3 separate regions of the Homo sapiens genome follow, and all the other regions are linked to region 2. The links are contacts of gene promoters, found by promoter capture Hi-C in human tissues and cell types (Jung and others, 2019). All regions are on one chromosome and are shown on one strand. The core of a region is centred on a gene start or on the middle of the fragment in contact, and the rest is flanking DNA. Distances in the headings are between cores, read along the strand shown. Region 1 has its middle 27 kb from the start of SNORD83B. Region 2 holds the start of APOBEC3C (apolipoprotein B mRNA editing enzyme catalytic subunit 3C). Region 3 overlaps TAB1 (TGF-beta activated kinase 1 (MAP3K7) binding protein 1).

Region 1 (3,981 bases), core at 293-2,792, 270 kb after region 2:
GTGTCAAATAATTGGGGGAAGAGCATGTTCTAAAACCACCAGAATAAGAATGGAGGGGACTCCAAGGCAGGCGACCAGTATCTAATGCAGAGCCTCCTGCCCTGTTCCAGACCTCAGAACTCCAGCCAGGGCCACAAGTCAGCCTAGTGCAGACCATAGACCACCCCACCCACCCCTGCTCATTTCCTTTACATTTTTTTCTTTCTTTCTTTTTTTTTTTTTTTTTTTTTTTGAGACAGTCTCACACTGTTGTCCGAGCTGGAGTGCAGTGGCACTATCTCGGCTCATTGCAACCTCTGCCTTCCAGGTTCAAGTGATTCTCCTGCCTTAGCCTCCCCAGTAGCTGGGATTACAGGTGTCCACCACCAAACCCGGCTAATTTTTTTTTTTTTTTTTTTTTTTGTATTTTTAGTAGAGATGGGATTTCACTATGTTGGCCAGGCTGGTCTTGAACTCCTGACCTTGTGATCTGCCCACCTCGGCCTCCCAAAATGCTGTAATTACAGGCGTGAGCTGCCGTACCTGGCTTTTTTCTTTTCTTTTCCTTTTCTTTCCTTTTTTCTTTCTTTCTTTCTTTTTTTCTCTCTCTCTCTTTCTTTCTTCTTCTTTCTTTCTTCTTTCTTTTTTTTTGAGATGGTCTCACTCTGTCACCCAAGCTGGAGGGCAGAGGCACAATCTTGGCTCATGGCAGCCTCAACCACCCCAGCTCAAGCAATCCTCCTACCTCAGCCTCCCCAGTAGCTGGAACCATAGACATGCACCACCACACCCAGCTAATTTCTTTTTTCACGTATTTTTTGTAGAGACGGAGTTTAACCATGTTCTCCAGGCTGGTCTTGAACTCCTGGTCTCAAGGGATCCACCTGCCTCGGCCTCCCAAAGTGCTGGGATTACAGGCTCTGTTCACATTTTTGTGTGTGTGTGCCAAGCACAGAGGGGCCACTGTGTGCAGCTACAGAGGCCCAGCTGGCCTGGCACCTCGGCTGGAAAGGGGCAGCCTCTGGGTAGAAGAGCTGGGTGCCCAGGTGGGGAAGGCATTTCACTCACCCCCTGCCAGAGCTCCCTTGGAGCCCCAGAGTTCCAGGCTCCTGGGTCCTATCTCCTCTGCTTTCTCCAAGCCCATTCCAGGGAAACAGAAACCCAGACAGGGCTTGGAAGATGTCACTCCTGGGTCCTGAAGTGAGACCCCAGAATAGATGTTCTCCTGAGGTCCCCTCTCCTGAAGTTTTATAATTCTGGGGTTGGAAGTGTCCCATGCTGTAAAATCCAAAAGTCTGTTTCCCTGCTTCTCTTTTTCTTATTTATTTATTTATTTTGAGATAGGGTCTCACTGTGTCACCAAGGCTGAATAGCAGTGGTGCAACCATGGCTCACTGCAGCTGTGAACTCCTGAGCTCAAGTGATCTTCCCACCTCGGCCTCCCAAGTAGCTGGGACTACAGGCATGCGCCACCACACCTGGCTAACTTTTGTATTTTTTATAGAGACGAGGTCTCCCTGTGTTGCCCAGACTGGCCTTAAACTCCTGGGCTCAAGCGATCCTTGCACCTTGGCCTCCCGAAGTGCAAGGATTACAGGCATGAGCCACTGCACCAAACCTTCTCTCCTTCTTAAGATTCTGAGTTTCTGTTTTGACTCTATTTGACAGCATCAGTCAAATTGCAAACGGGCTTACCCTTTGACCCAGCAATTCTCCTTCTAAGGAATCTTCCAGCCTCCAGAAGTCATCAAGCATGTGCAGAAGAGACAAGGCAAAAGTGTTCACAGTGGCTTCTTGTGTAACCAAGGAAAACTGGGAGCTGCCCCCATCTGCACCAATGGCCAGAGCAATTTATGGAACGTTTACGGAACACCGCGTCTGGTATGTGCCTATGAAACTTCTGCATTCAACAGACAAAACTTCTGCATTCAAAACACCACATTTCAAAACAAAACTTCTGCATTCAGCATGCCACAGTCATGTGTGGAGAGCAGAGAGGAACCCTGGAGGGAGGAGCTGCAGACGGAGCAGGGCCGTGGGGCAGGTGTCTACTGGTTTCCTGTAATAAATTACCATACACTTGGTGGTGGAAATAACAGGCATTTATTCTCATAGCTCTGGAGGCTAGAAGTCCAAAATCAAGGTGTCTACAGGGCCATGCTGCCTCCACAGCTCCAGGGGGCAATCTTTCAGCTTCTGGGGACTCCCGGGTTCCTTGGCCTGTGACCGCACTGTTCAATCCCTGCCTCTGACTTCACAGGGCCCTTTCCTCTCCTGAGTCTCTGTTTGCAAATCTCCCATCCCTTTCTCTTGTAAGAACACTCTAACTGGATTTAGGATCCACCCCAACCCAGGGTGACCTCATTCTGAGATCCATACTCTAATTACATCTGCAAAAATCCTTATTCCAAATAAGGTCACGTTCTGAGGTGCAGAATAGACATGAATTTTGGGGAGATCCTTTTCAACCCACAACAATGTGGAAGGCCAATGTGTCTTCTCCATCATTTGGTCCTGCTGCAAGGAGGGTGTGTTTCTGGACCTGTGTATTATTTGTGTATCATTTCATTTATGCCTAGTGTTCCATTATTGGGAATTATTTCTGTCCTCCTTCTCAAGGTCATTGCCAAGGTCTGATTGCAAAAGTTTTAAAAATTGCAACTTAAGGCATAAATGGGTTAATTTTTTTTTTTTTTTTTTTTGAGACAGGGTGTCTGTTACCCAGGCTGGAGTGCAGTGGCACAGTCATGGCTCACTGCAGCCTTGGCCTCCTGGGTTCAAATGATCCTCCCACCGCAGCCCTGCTGAGTAGCTGAAACTATAGACATTCGCCACCACACTCGGCTAATTTTCTTTAATTTATTTTTTGTAGTGATGGAGTCTCACTCTGTTGCCCAGGCTGGTCTCAAACTCCTGGGCTCAAGCGATCCTCCCTCTTCAGCCTCCCAAGTAGCTAGGATTTCAGGTATGCACCACCACGCTTGGCTAATTTTTAAAATTATTTTAGAGACAGGGTCTCACTATGTTGCCCATTCTAGTCTGGAACTCCTGGCCTCAAGCGATCCTCCCACCTCAGCCTCCCAAAGTGCTGGGATTACAGGCATGAGTCACTGTGTCTGACCTCATTTTAACTTTCAAAAAGTTCTAAAATCCCAGAAGACAAGTTGTCTTCAAAGATCCTCTGCCTCCCAGGGTCAATGACTCCAGTTTTCTGGGAGGCCCAGGGGGCCCCTCGGCAATGAGGTGGAAATCGTCAGCATGGCAGGGTGGACGCCTCTGATACCTGCCCTGCTGACCAGGCTGGAAGTTGCTGTGGCATCCTCAGGCCTCCAGATGGTGAGCCTCCCTGAGTCAATGGCGAGGTGATGGCCGACGTTCCCAGCCCAGCACTTGCTCCGGGTAGGAGCTGGGCACCTTGGAGCATGGCAGGGCTAGGGAGTGGGGGACAGTGGACTGGGAGCTCTGCCTGGTACCAGCGGCCCACTTGCCCATGACAGGCTCCTCAAGGGTCCTGGGCAGTCACAGATCCCAACCCCTCATTTTGGGGTTTTGTTTTGTTTTTGAGACAGAGGCTTGCTCTGTTGTCCAGGCTGGAATGCAGTGGCACAATCTCGTCTCACTGCAACCTCTGCCTCCTGGAATCAAGTGATCCTCCTGCCTCAGCCTCCTGAGTAGCTGGGATTACAGGCGCCCGCCACGACGCCCGGCTAATTTTTGTACTTTTAGTAGAGACGGGGTTTCACCATGTTGGCCAGGCTGGTCTCAAACTCCTGACCTCAAGTGATCCACCTACCTCGGCCTCTCAAAGTGCTGGGATTACAGGCATGAGCCACCACACTGGGTCTCCAACCCCTTTTTTTATCAATAGGGAAACCGAGGCTGACAGAGAAGAAAGGGCTTGGCCAGGGTCACCTCCTGAATTAGGAACCATGTGGCCTGTCCCACTGCTGCTCAGCAAGAACCTCCCCAGCCTCCTCCACACCTGTTAGGGCAGCCCCAGTG
Region 2 (3,513 bases), core at 462-2,961:
ATTTCAAGGATACAATGTACATTCATTCCTCCAAAATATGCTTAGATGAACTTAAATAATCAGAAAGTTGTGTGTGTATGTGTTTCACATTTTCTTGGTCCACACGGAACCCCTTGAGAGGTCCCTGTGGGCCGTGAGCCTGTTTGTAGACACTTGCTTCCACCGCTTGATGTCGCAGACATCGCAGTCCCTGATGTAGGGTCTGGCCCTATGGGGCTTAGTGGGTGTTCTCCCCGTGTGTGGAGATGAGAAATCGTAAAAAGTAAAGACACAAGACAAAGAGATAAAGCGAAAACAGCTGGGCCCGGGGGACCACTACCATCAAGACACGGAGATGGGTAGTGGCCCCAAATGGTTGCGTGCACTGTTATTTATTGCATACAAGACAAGGGGGGCAGGGTAAGGAGGGTGAGTCGTCCAAGTGATTGATAAGGTCGAGCAAGTCACGTGATCATAGGACAGGGGGCCCTTCCCTTATAGGTAGCCGAAGCAGAGAGGGAAGGCAGTATACGTCAGCGTTTTCTTCTATGCACCTATCAGAAAGATCAAAGACTTTAAGACTTTCACTATTTCTTCTACCGCTATCTTCTGAGAACTTCAAAGAGGGACCAGGAGTACAGGAGGAAAGTGGACAAGGAGCGTGACCATTGAAGCACAGCATCACAGGGAGGGGTTTAGGCCTCCGGATGGCTGCAGGCAGGCCTGGATACTATCCAGCCTCCCACAAGAAGCTGGTGGAGCTGAGCGTTCCCTGACTCCTCCAAGAAAAGGGAGACTCCCTTTCGTGGTCCGCTAAGTAACGATGCCTTCCTAGGCACTGGCGTTACCGCCTGACCAAGGAGCCCTCCAGTAGCCCTTATGCGGGTGTGACAGAGGGCTCACCTCTTGCATTCTCGGTCACTTCTCACAACAGCCCTTCAGCACCTGACCCTATACCCACCGGTTATTTCTTGGTTATATTAGTAATACAATAAAGAGTAATATTAAAAGCTAATGATTAATAATATCTACACTAATGATTGATAATGTCCATGATCATCTCTGTATCTAATTTGTATTATAACTATTCTTATTGTAAGTATATTCTTTATTATACTGAAACAGTTTGTGCCTTCAGTCTCTTGCCTCAGCACCTAGGTAATCCTCCGCCCACATCTCTGAGGGGCTGAACTGCCCCCCACCTTCTGGAAGCTGGGAGGTTGGAAGAGGGGATGCGTGCGATGGACTCAGCACACAGCTGGGAACTCGAGGCACACCTAAGCCTTCGCTTGTGCTGTGCGGAGTCCACACTTCCTTCCCCACTGGGGTCTCAAAACCTCCCCTCACTCAACAGGGTGGTGCTGCTCAAAGCTCTGGGCACACATTAGGGCTGGGGAGGGGGTGGTGGAGAGGGGGCTCCAGCCTGCCCAACCACCAGGCAACGGGGCACCTGCCCCTCTCTCAGCTGGGTCTGGACCCGCGTCCCAGGCTCAGGCTGCAATGCCTTTCTCTTTCTCTTTCTCTTCTTTTTGCAGTTCCGTTGGGTCCTGCCCAGGACAGATAAAGACAGAGCAGCCTGTCTTTATCGGAGGTTCCTCTGCCAGTAGGAGGGGCCCGGAGAAAACCAGAAAGAGGGCCAGAGCCAGAGAAACATGAAGCACCCCGGGGCCTCCCACACCAGTGCCTGAGCAGGAATGGGGAGGGGCCATGATTCACAAGGCCCTGGGAGGTCACTTTAAAGAGGGCTGCTCAACTGCAAGGACGCTGTAAGCAGGAAGAGAAGCCACAGCGCTTCAGAAAAGAGTGGGACAGGGACAAGCATATCTAAGAGGCTGAACATGAATCCACAGATCAGGTACCTCTGCACGCTTTGTCCGCCAGGCCCCTCCTGCCACTTCCTGCCAGGCGGTCCTGCTGGGCCTCAGCCCTGGCCTCCCCCTGCCCCAGCCCCACCTCTGGGCTCCCTCCCCCCTGGTTCCCCCGCTGCCCCCACTCCCAGCCAAGCTCCTTGCCCTGCTGTGTGGTCCCACGACTGCTGCTTCTGAATGGGCCACCTTCCCCACTTGCCCCAGCCCAGTCCGCCTGCTGAGACTCTCCCCCGAAAATCATGCCCGGGCTGGTGCTTCCCGCCCTGGGAGGGTGCTTCCTCTGTGTGCTTCCCACTATTCCTGGGAGCTCTGGAACTGGGAGAATTGAACCAAAGGATGATTTGAGCAATCAGGCATTTTGTTCTCAGCGCTTTGGTGCAATTTCTGTAAGATTTACTTTGTTTCAATACAAAGTCTTAGGAGAGGGTGTGGGGGAGGGAATGGTCTCTGTACCAGAAAATAAGTCACTTCTTCCAAAGATGCCTCCACTGTGAGCAGAGTAGGATGCACACGACCCCAGACACAGGCTCCTCCTCTGTGAGCACCGTTCACCTTTCAGAATGACACCTGCAACATGGAGTGTAGGAAAAAATATGATGATCAGGAGAAATGCTCTTATTTTAGGCCAGGCACGGTGGCTTATGCCTGTAATCCTAGCACTTTGGGAGGCTGAGGCGGGCGGGTCACTTGTGGTCAGGAGTTTGAGACCAGCCTGACTAACATGGTGAAACCTCGTCTCTACTGAAAATACAGAAAATTAGCCAGGGGTGCTGGCGGGCGTCTGTAATCCCAGCTACTTGGGAGGCTGAGGCAGGAGAATCCCTTGAACCCGAGGGGTGGAGGTTGCAGTGAGCTGAGATTGCAAACTCCAGCCTGGGGGACAGAGCGAGATGCCGTCTTTAAAAAAAAAAAAAAAAAAGTAGCAGAAAAACTGGGAGGTTGAGGGTGTTCCATTGGTAGCCCCAGAGCTGGGGTTCCAGCTAGGAGAGGTCACCCCGGCCCTGCTGCCCCTGCCAGCGTCCCCTCCTCTTTCTCTCTCCCCGTCTTCCTGCCTGGGAAAGCAGCAGACATTCTCAGGGCTGTGGAGGGATGGGGGAGGCCCAGAGCCCAGGGACGTCCAGGCAGCTGTGTTCAGTGGGCATCAGCCCTGAGGACTCCGGTGCGGGGGTCTCTGCATTGGGGTTTCTCTCTTGTGCCTTCAGAAACCCGATGAAGGCAATGTATCCAGGCACATTCTACTTCCAATTTAAAAACCTATGGGAAGCCAACGATCGGAACGAAACTTGGCTGTGCTTCACCGTGGAAGGTATAAAGCGCCGCTCAGTTGTCTCCTGGAAGACGGGCGTCTTCCGAAACCAGGTAGCACCAAAGTCCTAGTTACACCCTAAATAGGAGCTAAGCAGCTGGGAATGCAGAAAACGCAACAATAAGTGATGTGCCCGGCGTGGGCTCTCCTGTGTGCACTTTCCTGCCACATTTCTATTTTTTTTTTTTTTTTTTTGAGATGGAGTCTCGCTCTGTCACCCAGGCTGGAATGCAGTGGTCTGATTTCAGCTCACGGCAACCTCTGCTTTCCAGGTTCACGCGATTCTCCTGCCTCAGTCTCCCGAGTAGCTGGGATTACAGGCACCTGCCACCATGCCCAGCCAATTCTTTTGTATTTTTA
Region 3 (3,673 bases), core at 709-3,208, 390 kb after region 2:
TCAAGAGTTTGATTTTGCCTGTACTGTTACTTAATTATAAAAAAGAAAATCAGGCTAGGCATGGTGGCTCATGCCTGGAATCCCAGCCCTTTGGGAGGCTGAGGCAGGAGGATCACTTGAGGCCAGGAGTTCCAGATCAGCTCGGGCAACATAGTGAGATTCAGTCTTTAAAAAAATTAGTGAGGCATGGTGGTATGTGCCTGTAGTACTTAGGAGACTTAATGGGGTGATTGCCTGAGCCCAGAAGTTTGAGGTTGTAGTGAGGCTATGATCCCCTCACTGCACTCCAGGCTGGGTGACACAGCAAGACCTGTTTAAAAAAAAAAAAAGAAAGTAAGCTTAAAATCAATTTTTTAAACTTCGACATGTCCTGAGCAATTATATCTGAGATCATAGGTGCTGCTATCTGTGTAATTTATCTAAAGGATGTTAAAATAAATACATAGCCACTAAAATAAAAAGGTCCATGGGGGTACCACCTATACCCATTGCATACACCCAGCTGCTGCCCTAGCACATTGGAAGTGCCAACAATGATTATTAGCCCCTTTAAGAATGAATGAGGAGCTCTTTAGGATGACGACATGGAGAACCTTCAATGAAAACTCCGGTGGGAGAAGTGGGGGCCAGGAGTGGAGCTGGTCTCAGAGAAGTGGGTCATCCGGAAGGTTGGAGGTGGTGGGGGCATTGGGGCCTTGGAAGCTTTTTGGAGAGAAAGGTCTGCTGCTCCCCTGCTCCGAGCCCTCTTCCTGGGGTTGTGAGTCTCCCTTTCTGAGCTTCCTTTTTGCTTCTAAGGAATGTGGGTGCTTTTACCACAAAAACACTTGGCCTTTTCATAGCATAATTTGGTATTCAAGCTGTGGCCTGAGCTTGGAACCATTCTTTGTCCATTTCTGCTGCCCAGGACTTTGAGATGAGTCTGTGTGGGTACTTTGTGAACTATTATGTGACATGGACACATATATACATGAGGAGTGAATGCTTACATCATGCACAGGGTGTTTGTAAAGGCCTTGTTGGGTTAAATACTGTTGGATCACTGTAGAAGCTTTTCATACCGAAACATTAATTTTGGAAACTCCTTCACAAAATCAAATCAAAATTAGGTCTTTTGAAACAGGCTTCTTAACGTATTCTTGTGAAATTTCTCATGAGCAGTTCATTTCTCAGACATGGAAGAGTTAAGTCCTGCGTTCGCTGTTGTGTGTGTTGCAGTGGCTCCGCGATGAGGCTGTGCTGAGTGAGAGACGCCCCCTTCTCAGCTTCTCGCAGACTCTTGCTCCCTGCGCTCCAGCGCCGCTCACGGCTGGTGCTGGCAGGCCTGGCATTTGGGGGCGTGGGAGAAAGTATGCATCAGTGTGTGCAGGGGTGGAGGGGTGGGTGGTTTGTGTGAATAGAAAGTACATGACCTTTCTGAAAATTGTTCAGAAATGTGGAGGAAGGAAGCGAGAGACTTGGCAGTCCTGTAGGCTTTAATGGAATCAGCAATGGACGCTCGGTATGGCTAATCCTCGATGGAGATGGAAAGGGACGGGAGAACACGATCCAAGCCTACTCAGCTGCAGCAGCGTGAGTCCGCTGGGGAACACGGAGAAGACCAGATACTCTCACTCCCACTTGGTAGAACCTCCTGAGGTTCTCCGGCCACTGTAGTGAACCAGTGTCTGGCGAGCGCCCGAATTACGTGAGAAACTGCCCATGTGTCATTGGATCTAAGACACCAATGTTTTAAGGACACGTCAGTGTTTTGTCTATTGCTCAGAAAGAGAACTCACAGCTAATTAACTTGTAACATACCAACTCCAGAGACGTTAACATGTGGAAAATGTAGGTCTTCAAATCAGTGAAATAAGGTAATCTAATTAACAATACCAGGCTATAGCACAATGGTTGCCACAGGGCCACTTTGGGAGGCCAAGGCGTGTGGATCACAAGGTCAGGAGTTCAAGACCAGCCTGGCCAAGATGGTGAAACCACGTCTCTACTAAAAATACAAAAAATTAGCCGGGCATGGTGGCACGCACCTGTAATCCCAGCTACTCCAGAGGCTGAGGCAGAGAATTGCTTAAACCTGGAGGGGCAGAGCTTGCAGTGAGCCAAGATCGCGCCACTGCACTCCAGCCTGGGCGACAGAGTGAGACTGTCACCAAAAAAAAAAAAAAAAAAAAAGGAATCATTTGAGTGAAAGATAGTTTCTTGAAGATGGTCAGTGGATGATTGAGGTTTGGGAATCATGGGCCTCTGGCCCTAGTTGGATTTGAGCAGTGCCTTTAGGGTAGATAGGACTTAAAAAGACAGAAAGGGACAGGCTTTGCCTTACCATGGGTACTTTTACATATGCTCTTTGGGTAATTTTTTTCTTACTCTTTCTTTATTTTTTTTTAATTTATTTTTTATTTTTGAGACGGAGTCTTGCTGTGTCGCCCAGGCTGGAGTGCAGTGGCGCCATCTCGGCTCACTGCAAGCTCTGCCTCCCGGGTTCACACCATTCTCCTGCCTCCGCCTCTGGAGTAGCTGGGACTACAGGCACCCACCACCACGCCCACCTAATTTTTTTGTATTTTTAGTAGAGACGGGGTTTCACCGTGTTAGCCAGGATGGTCTCAATCTCTTGACCTCATGATCTGCCCGCCTTGGCCTCCCAAAGTGCTGGGATTACAGGCGTGAGCCACTGCGCCCGGCCTCTGGTCACAGTTTTTTAGAGATTGTTTGGAACAGTGAGTAGAAGGCCTTGTCTGTACAAGATACACAGCTGAGTGAGATTGTTAATCTGTCAAAGGGCAAAATTCAAAACTTTCGACAGTCTGGAAGGCTGGGATGAATGCATTAAGATGTAATTCGACTGATATAAATTTAGATTTAAAACAACCTTCTATAGTAGTTTGGCTGGGGGAGACAGACATGGTAGAAACTCACAGGAAAAGGACTTTGTTATTTTACATTACATAGAGGCTAGATGCTCATCTTCTCTTGGGTATATGAAAGCTGTTGATTTGCATACTTTGATTTTCTATCCTGCCGCCTAACTGATTTCTTTTTCTGTTTGCATTAGTTTTTCATTGATTCTTTAGGGTTGCCAGGCGTACTGTCCTATCAACTGCAAATAGAAATGACTTCTTTCCCGGTTTTTATGCTCTCATTCTTTACTCTGTCTAACTGCCTGGGCTAACACCTCCAGTTCTGTGTGAAGTAATAGAGTGGGCAGCCTTGCTATGGCCCTGATCATTTGTTGTTGTTTTGTTTTTTTTTTTTGAGAGGGAGCCTCACTCTGTCTCCCAGGCTGGAGTGCAGTGGCGTGATCTCGGCTCACTGCACGCTCTGCCTCCCGGGTTCCAGCGATTCTCCTTCCTCAGCTTCCCGATAGTAGATGGGACTACAGGCGTCTGCCACCACGCCCGGCTAATTTTTTGTATTTTTAGTAGAGACGGGGTTTTGCTGTGTTAGCCAGGATGGTCTCGATCTCCTGACCTCGTGATTCGCCGGTCTCGGCCTCCTAAAGTGCTCAGATTGCAGGTGTGAGCCACCGTGCCCAGCCTAATTTTTTGTATTTTTAGTAGAGACGGGTTTTCACCATGTTAGCCAGGATGGTCTCAATCTCTTGACCTCGTGATCTGCCCGCCTCAGCCTCCCAAGGTGCTGGGATTACAGATGTGGGCCACCATGCCCAGCCCTA

What was found. Contacts are between HindIII fragments. The study calls those that stand out against the background at their distance.
Region 1: a contact is called between a fragment that was not itself captured here and the fragment with the promoter of APOBEC3C in region 2, in 2 of the 25 tissues and cell types used here (dorsolateral prefrontal cortex and spleen).
Region 3: a fragment that was not itself captured here is called in contact with the fragment with the promoter of APOBEC3C in region 2 in 2 of the 25 tissues and cell types used here (adrenal gland and dorsolateral prefrontal cortex).

The regions. Positions count from the first base shown.
Region 1 is chr22:39,285,361-39,289,341 of GRCh38, forward strand. No RefSeq gene overlaps it. Among named protein-coding and RNA genes, the nearest start is that of SNORD83B, 27 kb to the right of the region's middle. The HindIII fragment of the contact is 9,215 bases long and covers 1-3,981 here.
Region 2 is chr22:39,012,546-39,016,058 of GRCh38, forward strand. It overlaps APOBEC3C (apolipoprotein B mRNA editing enzyme catalytic subunit 3C), which reads left to right and starts at 1,712. Exons shown (of 4, transcript NM_014508.3): 1 at 1,712-1,834; 2 at 3,050-3,206. The coding sequence starts at 1,818. RefSeq lists enhancers at 924-1,542, 1,519-1,813, 1,543-2,160, 1,733-1,842 and a silencer at 1,953-2,002. The HindIII fragment of the contact is 14,453 bases long and covers 1-3,513 here.
Region 3 is chr22:39,404,250-39,407,922 of GRCh38, forward strand. The region is part of intron 1 of TAB1 (TGF-beta activated kinase 1 (MAP3K7) binding protein 1); the gene reads left to right. Among named protein-coding and RNA genes, the nearest start is that of TAB1, 6.3 kb to the left of the region's middle. The HindIII fragment of the contact is 6,290 bases long and covers 1-3,673 here.